Regions from separate parts of the Homo sapiens genome. Here regions 2 and 3 are each linked to region 1. The links are contacts of gene promoters, found by promoter capture Hi-C in blood cells and fetal thymus (Javierre and others, 2016). All regions are on one chromosome and are shown on one strand. Each heading gives the region's core, a stretch centred on a gene start or on the middle of the fragment in contact. The rest is flanking DNA. Distances are from core to core; before and after follow the strand shown.

Region 1 (4,392 bases), core at 1-2,500:
ATACCCTGGGCCGGCCGCCACGTCGCCGACCCTCCCGCAGCTCCCGCCGCCAGGGCGCGACACGCCATTCCCCCTGCCGCGACTCCCCGGAGACGCCGCAGCTGCGCGCCAGGGTCCAGCCCGGCGGGGATCGGGCTCGGGACTCACCCGCTCCGGCGAGCTCGACTCAGCTCGGGCTCCCGCCTCGGCTAGGCAGCCGCCTGGGGCTGCGTCCCGCGCAGGGTCAGCGCGGATCGGGCAGGAGGCGCCCTCTTGGCAAAGTCGGCTAGAGGCGCCAGCTCAGTCGCGCACCGGCCCCGAGTCCGAGTCCGAGAGGGACGGAGGGAGCGAGTTATAGGGGCGAGAGGGGGTGGGGGAAGGACGCCGCAACACCCTCATACCCTCCCCCACCCCGCCCCCTGTCCCCCGCCCCCCAGCGGAGACGCGGAAAACCACTCGCAGCCGGAGAGACACCCGGACACAAAGACCTCGTGCCAGCCGCAGACCCAAGTTTCTCCCGGAGAGACTGGGGGTCCGCCCGCGTTCACCGCGAGAACACACAAACGGACGGACAGACCGACGCACGGACCCGGGGACCTCGACACTCGCTAGGAGGCAAGCCCTATTCCTCAGCCGGGCGCCCCTCGTCTCCCGCTCTCTCCATGGACCCCTCTCCTGGCAAATCGCCCGCAGAGCGAGCTTGGAGATGCGAGGGAAACTGAAGCCCCAAGGGTGCCCCGTCCTGGGAGCCTGGCTGTCTGCGGGGTCCCCCGCATTCCGCAGTAGTAATACAGGAGGGCCGGGGGCTTCTACCCCAACCTCCGCTCCCCTTCGGGTCTCTCCTGGCTGTGCAAGCGATGGGCCAGAGGGCTGGACGAGGCTGGCTCCCAATCCAGAATCCCGAGCTGGGGAGTTCTCTCTAGGTTCTGGGGCTCCTGGGACCGGGGCTTTGGGGAAGGGAGATCGCAGGACGGATATCCAGGAAGGGAGGGGGCCCTGGGTCTCCCGTTACCTGCGCCTGCCGCGCTGGGACTCCGCTCTGGGGGCTGCAGCTCGAAGCTCCGACAAGTCTCCACGTCCAGCCCGAGAGGGGGCGGCCGGGCCCGGCACAGCGAGGCGAGGACCGCGAGCGCCTCCTGGCACCGAGGCCCGCCGGCCCCCCACACTCCGCTCATGCCCTAGACACCCAGGCTTGCCGAGCAGCAGCTCGAACCCGCGCCCCGGCCGCACTGGGGCGGGGCACGACGGCCCCAAGAAGACCCTCCCTGCAGCGGCCCCCTGCGGCTCCGCTCTGCTTTTAATCACTTCCCCGCAGGGTCCCCGCCCCTCACGTGGCATCCCGCGGCAGCTGGCGAGTCTGGCGCCTCGCGGCCGCCCCCTCTACACTCAGGGACTGGCCTGAGTCCGGGGGGTGGGGGTTTCGAGGCGGGAAGCCGGGCTGTCCCGAATCTCGGAGGGTGCAAGGCCAGGAAAGAGTCCGGGTTCCCACTCCGCATTCACTGCCTGGTGTGACCTTGGGCGTCTCTGAGCCTCAATTTTCCTCTCCGTAAAGGAGGTGTAATGATTTTAAGTACTTCACGGACTCCCTGGGGATAGAAAGATCGTGTTTGTGAAAACACTGGGTAAACTGCCACATGCCACACGAATGACAGAGAAATAGATAACCCCGTAACAGAAAGAGCGACGGTCAGGCAGGGTCTGGGAGGACCTTGGCCGAGGTTCCTGACGGGAGCAGTTAGACTGGCCCCCGAGTCCCAGCTTCGGAGGTAGAAGACCCCAAGACAGGCGGGCGATGCGAACTGCAAGACTTTCCGAGCTCCGCAATCCTGCGGTCCGCGGTACCCGCATGTTGCTATGGCGACGGGAGGCAGCGGCCGTCTCTCTCCATGGCAACGGGAGGGAAAAGTTTCTGGCAAACAGGAATGGGGGGTCATTTCAAGAGGGCGCAGGGCGCTCAGTTCCGCCGACCCACCTCCTTGCTTCGGTGAAACAGCACCAGAGATCATGTATCTTTCTGCTAAGCATAACAAGAAAGACAGAAAGCTCAACGGGAGGATTGAGGCTAGACTTAAAGTAGAGATCCCCTCAGAAACTGTGGAGTGAGGCCCAGGAACAGATCGGCTGAGAGGCTTCGAGCTGCCTCACTCAGCGCTGGAAGTCTGTGAGCCATGGTCAGGGAGGCCGGGGGACCAGCGCCCTGCAGGGGCCTATCTCGGGAGTCTCTTGATCTACACCTGTCGGCGGTGGGGCCCCTTCTGTGTGGGGCTCGCCTGAAGCCCCAGACTCAGGTCCATTTGCTCTCCCGGAGCTGGGAAGGAAGCTTTAGCTGCAGCCCCTGGAGGCTGCTGGGTTGGTGTATGCCCGAGTGGCTGGCGAGGGAGAAAGGTCTTGCCTCTTAATTAACACGCTTATTGGAAGTGACTCGGGCAGTGACTCACGTTCCGGAGGGAGGAGATTCGGAGCCTTAGCTCCTGGCGGTCTCCACTGCGCGCCATCTGTGCCAACCGGCCCTTGGACTTGCGATCCCCTAGCAGCTGGTGCCTGGGGCACCAAGGGCTAAGGCAAGGCCTGTGAGGACCCTGGCCCAGCCAGGCGGCTTTTCCACCGTGAGGCGCCCCCTGGCTCTGTCCACGGTGCTGAAGACCCAGTTGGTGCTACCATCGCGTGGGCATAAGTTTAGGGGACGAGGGAGAGGCAATTGTTGAAGGTTCGCAGCTTCCACCCTGACCCCTGTGCCTGTGATAGCAGAAGGCTAGGAACTCAGGCAGGGACCAAGCAGACACGACGCAGGCGATACTGTGCAATCCGGGCTGCCTTCCTGCTGGAGGTGTTTGGTTGCTGTTCCAAGAACAAGTGGGGCTCTGGCATCCCTATGCGCCTTCCTGGTGCTTCTGAAAACCCACCTGAGGAGCCTAGAGGCCCCATTAATTTCTTTTCCATCACCCGATGCAGATCTCAGCACCCAGAAGAGCCTCTGGCTAAACGCTTATTAGCAGTTTCCCAAGTGGCAGGTTTGTGTTTATGTAAAATACAAATGGAGAACTGCTCTTTGCCCGTGTTTATGGCAACTCTGTCACTCCCCTGCTATTTCTCCCTCCCCCTCGCGAGTTCCTGGGGGAAATTCACAGAACAAAGCACCTTGTTTTGCCTTTGCAGAGAATGAAAAAACACAGGACCATTCCAAGGGCCCAGACCTGTGATGCAGGGAAATCAATATTTTGCTTACATCGAGTGGGGGAATTTGCATCTAAACTGAAGGCAAAGGAGCTTGTTTGGAGCAGAGCAGGTGGCAGGAGCCGAGAATTAACAGATAATTTCTCATTGTTCCTGGATTCAGCCTCCACACTCGGCAGGCGCTTCTGCAGCGTCTCTGGCGCCCCGGCAGCAGCTCCGGACCTGGCATTTCTCAATCTAGCAGTGTGAAGGAGCTGCTGCCCTGATAGGGCTGCAGAAACAGGTTAGGGCCCCTGGGTCAGTCAATAGCTATTGAAGTTGGATTGTAGGAGTTAGCGTGTGTGGGAGAGACAGAGATGAGAGAGACAGAGAGAAAGAAACAGAGACAGAAATAGAGGCAAGAGACAGATACAAATGAGAGAGACAGAGGATGAGACAGAGATACAGAGAGACAGTTATAGGAAATAGAGAACAGAGAAACAGACAGGGAGACAGATGTACAGGTAAAGAAACACACATTCAGAAGGAGACATTAAGGTAAAGCCTCACCCTAGTTGTCCTCTTTAGCCCGCTACCTCCCCCAGCCCCCAGGTCAATTGCTGATACCACTGTGGTCACATAACCAGCCACAAAGCAGAAAAATTCTTCATGTAATGATGGAAACTTTTTTGTCTCTCAAACCCCTTTGCCCTGCAAACCCAACCCCCAAACACACCTTTGCTTCTTCCCATATGAAGAGATAAAATTCAGAGTCCCAGGGTCCCACCAAGAGCTGGGAGGGAGGATCCAGGGTCCCACTCAAACCCAGAGAGGGAAAGAGGTGGAAAGAAGTGGAATTGTTGCCCTTCAATTCTATCTCTCAGAGAAATCCCATTCTGAGTTTGGGTTTAGGGGTGGGGAGGAGAGAAGCAGGAGCAGAGACAGTTAAGCATGGAGTGGTGGCAAATAAGTACATTGGACAGGGCCTGGGAGGGCTGGGATTCAGGGCTGGTGCACCAAAGCAGCCACGAGGCTGTCACATCCCCTATCTGGGGCTCAGTGTGCCTATGTGAAGTTGGATTAGGAGCTCTTTGAGGCTCCTTCCAGCAACAGCACTCTAGGATTTTACATGAGGGAGAAAAGAGGAGGCTGGGGCAAAGGGAGGAGGGAGGCAGCCTTTCCTGGCTCTGAAGCTGAGGGTGGTTTTACAGAGGCCAACTCACTTTCAGCTCCCCCTCCCCCATCGTTCTCATTGCGCCT
Region 2 (3,878 bases), core at 308-2,807, 150 kb before region 1:
ACCTAGAGGAAGTGGATAAATTCCTGGACACATACAACCTACTCAGATTGAACCAAAAAGAAACAGAAAACTTGAACAGACCAATAACAAGTAACGAGATTAAATCAGTAATTAAAAAACCTCCCAAGAAAGAAAAGTCCAGGACTGGATGGCTGTACCGCTGAATTCTATTGAACCTTTAAAGAAGAATTAATACCAATTCTCAAATTATTCCAAAAATTGAAACAGCCAGAATTCTTCGTAATCATTCTATGAGGCTAGCATAACTCTGATACCAACACCAGACAATAATATAACAAAAAAGAAAACTTATTTTTTTTTAAGGGAAAAGGTAGGAGCTAGGCAGAGACTAAAGATGTAATGGAGAAAGAGGAGAATGAAACGAGCTTGCTTAGGAGGAGGGAGGAAGAGGAGGAAGGAGAAGGGACAAGGCTTCTCAGAGCTCAGAGCAAGGGGACAGATAGCAAGTGGAAACAGAGTTTATGTCAGAACAAATCCCAATCTTGTTGAGAAGGGAATAGTAAATGAACTGCAGAGGGAAAGAGGATGGGAAGTGGTTCAGAGTCTGAAGAGAGAAGAGCAGGATGTGAATTTGGCGTGAAGCCAGTAAGAGATCATTGAAATATGGCAGAGAGGAAGCGAGGAGCCGCTGGAATCTGCAGTGCACCCACAGCCAGTCTTCTCATTGCCAGCATCTCCGTTTTCTCTTCCTTCTGGACAATATTTGTCAACTACTAACAACTAGCAGCTGCTTTTTTTTTTTTTTTGAGGCCTTACTATGTGCACTTGATAGATATCTTCCCAATTCACAATTACTTGTAATTGTATGATAGGTTTGAAGCAGAAAAGAGTTAAGGATGTTGGTTGGTGTAAGTTTTCTATAAGTAGGTACCATGTGGTGTGGCTGCTCAAAATGATGATACTCTTTAGGCTGCGTTAGTAGGAGCACATTAGTGTGAAGGAGAGCAAACAGTCCTGTGTTATTCTGCTCTGGTCAGGCCAAAGAAGCAATGTTCTTTTCTGTCCCAGGTAAGGGTGATAATCATAACTGCTACTATTCATTAGGCACCTACTATGTGCCAGCTCCCGTGAGATGCTTGCATGCATTCTTTTTAATCCCCAAAACAATCCCAAGAGGTAGATAATATGATCTTCATTTTACAAATAAGAAAACTTAGCCTCCAAGAGTTTCAGTTACATGCCAATGTCCTTAGAGAAAGGAGAAAAATAACACCTACTAAAGAAAGACCTAAGGAATAAGAGTGGTATCTTCAAGTAGCAGAAAGGCCATCATAAGGCAAAGGGACAGTACTGGCCCTTTTTGATCTGGCCATAAAAGGTAGAAATAGGCTCAATGGATGTAAATCACACAAAAAGAAGTTCCACTTAACAAAAGGAAGAACAGTCAGCCATATGACAAAATGTTTTGTGTTACCTTTGGTGGTAGTGAGTTCCCTGTTACTGGAGGTGTTCAAGCAAAGGCTGAATGAATGTTGGGCACAGCTGTACAGAGAATGCAAGCATTAGATGAGGAGTAGAACTAGATGCCCTTCTCGATATTTTCCAACATTCAAATTTTGTTTATATTTTTTAGCAATATAAAAAAGAGGTCAGGTCAAAAAGGGAAGAGGTTCAAAGACACCGGAATGGCTGGCCATGTGGCAATCCTCCACAAGCTGCAATTAGAAAACAAGAGGGGTTCTCCTGGCCATCGGGATGCGGAGTAGAAGTGAGGCTCTGCCTCATTCCGCCCACCCCTAACTTGGCTTCCGGTGAAGTCTCCTGGAGAAGTTAGAGGCAGAAGTTTAGTGTGCACGTTTCTGCCTAAGCAATTCTGCAACCATTTTTCACCAACTCAGGCTCAGGCAGGTGGCTGGCTATGGTTTGTATCTGATTTGTTTGCATTTCTGTGGCAGGCAGCTGCTGTGACTGGTTGCAAAGGGAGAGATTTGCTTTGCACCTAATTTAATCCAAGGGTTAGGTAATGAGTTTGCTCCCCCTTAGAAGAGAGGAATCAACATGCTTCTTCCAATCTTATCTGTGCTTGCTTATTAGCAGGAGGGCTGCTCTGTGGACCTTGTTAGATCTCCAACGCATGTGATCACTACTCAGGGGTGATTTACTATACCTCCTGATATTAAAAACCCCTGAGCGAGACAAGAGAAATGAATAATGCTCTGTAGTGAATTTGTTAATGAATTTTCTTTCTGCACCCAAAAAGAAGAAACTGGAAAAAAAGGATGTTGGACCAGAGAAAGACCATAATTCTCTGCAAGTCAGGGTTCTTGATGAGTCTAGAGAGAAAATAATCAGAAATCTTTTTTTTTTTTTAAAATCCCATATTCCGTTCTAGTTAGGGATTGTCATTAATTTCAGGGTAGAAGATAGCTTGGCATCTTTCTGGTATTCTTAAAATAGAATAAATAGGCAGCCAACCTTAAAAAAAATAAGAGGTTTTGATCTAGGGTTTGAGTAATCTGGGCTGGCTTCTGATTTGCATATATATGTAATAAAGTATGTCCCTGTTCCCAAGGTTGATTGCTAGGAAGCTGAATTCATGAAGAATGAAACTCTGCTCAGTGACAGGTGAGGAGGCAGAGGGACTTCCTGTCAACTCCTCCAGGTGTGTACCTGTCTATAAACCCTCACCTGCTGGGTCAGGGTGTCTTGCTTCAAACTTGTGACTAGGGCCAGCTTCCTAGGCATGTGGCCTGTGCAGGTGCACAGAACCCTGCACTTAGAAGGGGTTGAGCTTAGTTTAATGTTCTGCTGTTGCTGTCTTGAAATTCTTAATTTTTGAAAAAGGAACTCCTTATTTCCATTTTGCACAGGGCCTGGGAATTATGTAGCCGGCCCTGACAGTTGATTTTTCATTGTCAATGGCTCTGTCTTGCGTTCATCTGCCCTTTCCCAACTCTGACCTTTTCTCAGGGGCAAAGTGATGTTTGCTCTAAAAGCATACATATCATGTAAAAGTATGTGTCTGTCTTTTAGGAAGACAATTTATTGCTTTTTATACCCTATTTAGAGAAGTAATACAGGTAAATTATAGGAAATCTGAAAAGTACGAAGAAGAAAAAAATTATCCATATACCCACCACACAATGATGTAGCTTTCTAGACTTTTAATACATACTTCTGTTTTGTTCTGGCTTTACATCATTGGAAATATCAGAAATAATGTTTGGGAAAATGCTTTTTAAAGATTACTAACATAGCATGAGAATTTCCCCCATATCATAATTTTTTCTTCAAAAGTTTTTTTGTTGTTAGCTACATAGCATTCCACTACACAAAAATGCCATCATTAACTCAAATGATCCCTTCTTTTTGGGCCATTTATGTTTACTACAAATAACACTGTAAAGATAACACTTATATACGTTAGAAAACCAAAAAAAAAAGATGATTTGTTTAGTTGTTTATTTATTTTATTATTTATTTTTGGGGGAATAAGCAGTGTTTATTGGGCTCAGACCAGGAGTCCATGGGTCTTGAGGACCTCTGCGTATCTGTCAGTTTTCTCCATGTTCTTTGCTGCCTGTTTCTGTGGCCTTAAGAGCTGCTTTTCCTTCCCTGAGTAAATCCTGGCCTTTTCCTTCCTCTCCTCCTGCAGGTGGCTGTCACTGCCTGCTACTTCTAGCCAGCTTCGTGAGTCAGGCACCCCAGGCAGGCAAACTTTCTTGTAGGCTTCAGACATACCACCTGGAGGGCCGCAGAAACAACCTTCAGCTGTTTCTTGTCGCAGGGCCGTGGGATCCCAGCACACACCTTGAGGCGGTCCTGGGAGGCTTGGCCTCGCGCGGTCCAAACCAGGTATATGGGGGCCCAGGAAGGGTGGGGGTCCGGGAAGGGTTGGTGTTCATCCACCTGTGGAG
Region 3 (4,321 bases), core at 671-3,170, 170 kb before region 1:
GGCAGCTGATGAGGAAGGTCTTTGGGCTGTCTATGCCACCCGGGAGGATGACAGGCACTTGTGTCTGGCCAAGTTAGATCCACAGACACTGGACACAGAGCAGCAGTGGGACACACCATGTCCCAGAGAGAATGCTGAGGCTGCCTTTGTCATCTGTGGGACCCTCTATGTCGTCTATAACACCCGTCCTGCCAGTCGGGCCCGCATCCAGTGCTCCTTTGATGCCAGCGGCACCCTGACCCCTGAACGGGCAGCACTCCCTTATTTTCCCCGCAGATATGGTGCCCATGCCAGCCTCCGCTATAACCCCCGAGAACGCCAGCTCTATGCCTGGGATGATGGCTACCAGATTGTCTATAAGCTGGAGATGAGGAAGAAAGAGGAGGAGGTTTGAGGAGCTAGCCTTGTTTTTTGCATCTTTCTCACTCCCATACATTTATATTATATCCCCACTAAATTTCTTGTTCCTCATTCTTCAAATGTGGGCCAGTTGTGGCTCAAATCCTCTATATTTTTAGCCAATGGCAATCAAATTCTTTCAGCTCCTTTGTTTCATACGGAACTCCAGATCCTGAGTAATCCTTTTAGAGCCCGAAGAGTCAAAACCCTCAATGTTCCCTCCTGCTCTCCTGCCCCATGTCAACAAATTTCAGGCTAAGGATGCCCCAGACCCAGGGCTCTAACCTTGTATGCGGGCAGGCCCAGGGAGCAGGCAGCAGTGTTCTTCCCCTCAGAGTGACTTGGGGAGGGAGAAATAGGAGGAGACGTCCAGCTCTGTCCTCTCTTCCTCACTCCTCCCTTCAGTGTCCTGAGGAACAGGACTTTCTCCACATTGTTTTGTATTGCAACATTTTGCATTAAAAGGAAAATCCACTGCTCCTCTCCTGTGTTTGTTTGGGGTAGCCCTCAGATCAAACTTCCCCCTGACCATCCAGTTTCTCCCTCCCAACCCATCCCCACTCCTTGAGCCATATTAAAGACTTGGGCGGGGCTCCCTTTGCTGAGGAAGAGTTTACTGTGAGGCGCCTGGGGGAGGTGGCAGAATCCCGCCACTTTAGGAGGCTGGACGAAAGGCCTCCTTCCACACCCACCGCCATCCACAGCAGCCAATCCACAGCAGCCATCCTAGAACCTCAGTGGCACCGTGCCTCTGGCTGTGAGACACTGGGGCCCAGGGCAGAGATTCCAGTTCCGATTCTCAGAGGATTTTGAACTACAAAATGCATGTTAGTTGCATTGCATTCTAGTGTGGAAACCAGAGCCCTGAATGCCTGTGTTTTTAGTAAGAACTGAAGTCTCCCCTCTAAAGTGGACTCTGCCCCGCACCCCAGACCTCCACTCCCACCTCCAGCGTTGTGCTCCTGCAGGGCCAGGTTGCACAATCATTCTTGGTCTGGACCGCTCTGATTTTCCTGCTGCCACGGCGTCTGCGGTTTGTGCAGGGAGGAGGGGCAGTGACCGTGTCCCAGATGTTGGCCTTACACGGTCTGCAGCCTATTCTTGCTTTCCTTTTCTCCACTCTCATCACCCTCACCTACCCACTCCAGCCCTGAACCTGGCTGAAGCCCGTCAGGACTTCTGGAAACTTAACCCTCTCTGGCCCATACCCTGGCCTCTGGCGTTGGATTGCAGAGCGTAATGTGGGGAAGAGGGAAGGGAGAAGGGAGAGGAGGAGGAAGGCTCCAGGCTTTGGACTCCAGTCTCCAGGAATCTGCTGATTTCTGCACCAGGCCCCCACCCCAGCCTCACCCTCACTGCTGCATGCTCAGCTCGCAGGGGCAAGGCTGGCTGATGGGCAGGATCCACTGCTTTCATGAGGAGTCCACCTCAGGCATGCCTGGGGGTCCTCTTGGTTATTTGCTCTAGCCAAGTGCGGGAAGGGGGCACAGCCTTCTCCCCAAAGCACAGCCCTCCTTCCCGCCCCAGGTGGGGTGGCTCAGTCAGGGCCCTGTGAGCCTCCCTTTATCTTCTTTTCTTTTCTCCTCAGGCAGAGCTGCTCCAGACGTAGGTTGATGAGGATGGGGAAAGAAAGACAGTGAAGCACCTCAGAAAGGCGCTATTATAGGGAGACCGGGGCGGGCAGGGGCTCTCTCCCATTGAATTCTCTCCTAATGTGGGGCTGGCAACAGTAATCACCACCTGTCAGCCCACGGAAGGGTCTGCCCACAGAACAGCTGGCTGCGGCACACGTGGTGCACAGGGAGGGGTTGAGGGGGAAGGGCATTCTGAGCACAGGCCTGGAGAATGGGGTCTGGGCCACACGGCTGGCAGAGCAGTGTGGGGACTGTGGGTGCCCCATGTGGAAGGGGAGCTTGTCTGCTCCCTAGCGTGACTGTGTGTGTGTGTGTGTGTGTGTGTGTTGGGGGTGGGAGGTGCCTGTGTGTGGCAGAGGTGCTTGTCTGCTCCCTAGTGTGACTGCGTATGTGTACGTGTATGTGTATATGTGCCTGCATGTGGCAGGGGAGCTTGTCTGCTAGCTTGTGTGGCTGTATGAGTGTGTGATAGGAGGCTGTAGGGTCAGGCCGTGTCTCTGGAGTTACCTTGTTAGAGCACCAAACACCAGGAGCGGCTCTGATGCCCTTGATGAGAGCATAACCTGAGACTCCGTGTGTATAAGTGACGTCAAGGAATATGTATTTGAAGTACATTCTTAACGCCTTATTACTTCCATGAAAATCAGGTAACCAGGTTCTTCCGCGTTGCATGTGTGTGCTTGTCTTTGTGGCATCTATCTTTGCCTGATTCCTCCTCCATGAGAAAGAAAAAAAGCATATCTTTTTTTGGCTTACAATTTCTGTGGAAAAGTTCATTCAGGCTTTTCTGAAAGGGCAGAAATCTCTGGGGCCTTGTCGTTTATTACTTTTCTCTTCCTTCTTTTTGGCTCCTGTGCAACAGCTAGTGCTATTTTGGAAGCATTATGGAAGGTGAGTAGAACTGTGTGGGCAGATCCAGTGAACTGTCCAAATTCATTAAACTAAATTATCTGCTGCTCCAGGAGACAGCACCGGTAGCTAAATCCTATCATCCACAAGTAGCCTCAGACCCCCATCAGACCCTCCACAACCCATCACTTGGCAGAAATAGGTTATGACCTCTGATTTTGTTGAACAAAAGACAGTGGAAGGCAAAGGGCCTAGTAGAGGAGAGAGGGGTTAAAAGCCCAAAGAGAAGTCCCACATATGCCCCAGTGCCTAGCCATTGGGTGGTACAGTAAACACCCAAGGATGGGGATGTGGGAAGGGCACCAAGAACCAGGAGGGGCTGCTGTGGTGGAGGCAGCTGTCTGCTAGGTCTTAGGTCCAGATGTTGCTTCTCCATCACAAGGCAGTATTGAGAGGGCTCCCCCAAGGCAGTATTGAGAGGGCTCCCCTCTCCGCCACACTGGGCCTCAGGGTTTCCTGCTTTACTTCCTAAGCTCCCCTCCTTGTTCTCAATATCCTCTCTTCTCCAATGCTGGTCTTAGTATCTGCCTGCCAGCGAATCCAAAGTGTTTGTCTTGTTCATTTTAATCAAGGAAGCTGAGCCGGTGTTGTGAGCGCCCTGGATGGTGGAGAGGGACAGGGCAGAGATGGACAGGAAGAAGTTGTTGATTCAGCTGTCAATGTTTCCTCTGGGATGGGCTCTGAGCTAAACAGAAACCAAGCCCTCCTTTTCCTCCTCCTCCAGTCTCAGATTTTCTGGGCCTCTTCTCATCTCTCCTTGAACAGGCACCCCTTCCCCAAGGCTCCTGGGGGCATCCCCTTCCACTGCTCCCCACTCCTCTACCTGGTTTAGAGGAAAGCATGCCCATTTTGAGAGCTGCTGAGACTGTCCTGGTATTTCTCAGGGCCTTCAGGATAGGTCTCTTCAGGGCCTGCCACCCAGCCTCTCTGTGTCTGCCTTTGCAGTTTAGTGTGGTCTGTGGTCCAGGAGAACTTTTCTATTTCTCCGGCTGGAAAGTAGGGTCTGTCCTGTGGCCTTAGCTCCTGTTAGCAGCTGTGGCCTCTGCAGGCCCTGTGGACCCCTCAGCCTGGCTGGTGAGCTTTCCTTTGCCTGGTCTTTAACTTCTGCTTTTACAATGCAGAGCTTAAAAGAGTAAAGCTTTATTTCTGGATTTAATAACTCCACAGAATTATAAATGTGGAAGCCTATGTATTACTTTAAAGGGCAGAGTGAGAAGTGAAAATGCAAAACTCTCAGCACCATCTCCCCAGAACTTGGGTTCTGACCATACCTCTCCAGGACTGCCAAGACCAACTCGGTTGGAGAGACCCTAACCCAGCAGCGCTAGAGGAATTAAAGACACACACACAGAAATATAGAGGTGTGGAGTGGGAAACCA

What was found. Contacts are between HindIII fragments. The CHiCAGO score rates a contact against its expected background, and 5 or more counts as called.
Region 2: a contact is called between a fragment that was not itself captured here and the fragment with the promoter of SYT6 in region 1, in 2 of 17 cell types (M2 macrophages and M0 macrophages). The highest score is 5.9, in M2 macrophages.
Region 3: a fragment that was not itself captured here is called in contact with the fragment with the promoter of SYT6 in region 1 in 4 of 17 cell types (M1 macrophages, M0 macrophages, M2 macrophages and 1 more); the score reaches 11.9 in M1 macrophages.

Annotation. Positions count from the first base shown.
Region 1 is chr1:114,152,619-114,157,010 of GRCh38, forward strand. SYT6 (synaptotagmin 6) reads right to left here and starts at 1,251. Exons shown (of 8, transcript NM_001253772.2): 1 at 992-1,251. The coding sequence starts at 1,154. RefSeq lists an enhancer at 2,426-3,039 and a silencer at 3,969-4,263. The HindIII fragment of the contact is 4,368 bases long and covers 1-2,297 here.
Region 2 is chr1:113,997,961-114,001,838 of GRCh38, forward strand. It overlaps the pseudogene RPL13AP10. Among named protein-coding and RNA genes, the nearest start is that of OLFML3, 20 kb to the left of the region's middle. The HindIII fragment of the contact is 8,622 bases long and covers 1-3,878 here.
Region 3 is chr1:113,981,376-113,985,696 of GRCh38, forward strand. OLFML3 (olfactomedin like 3) reads left to right here. Exons shown (of 3, transcript NM_020190.5): 3 at 1-878. The coding sequence ends at 394. Among named protein-coding and RNA genes, the nearest start is that of OLFML3, 4.1 kb to the left of the region's middle. RefSeq lists enhancers at 1-676, 1,932-2,895. The HindIII fragment of the contact is 4,315 bases long and covers 1-4,078 here.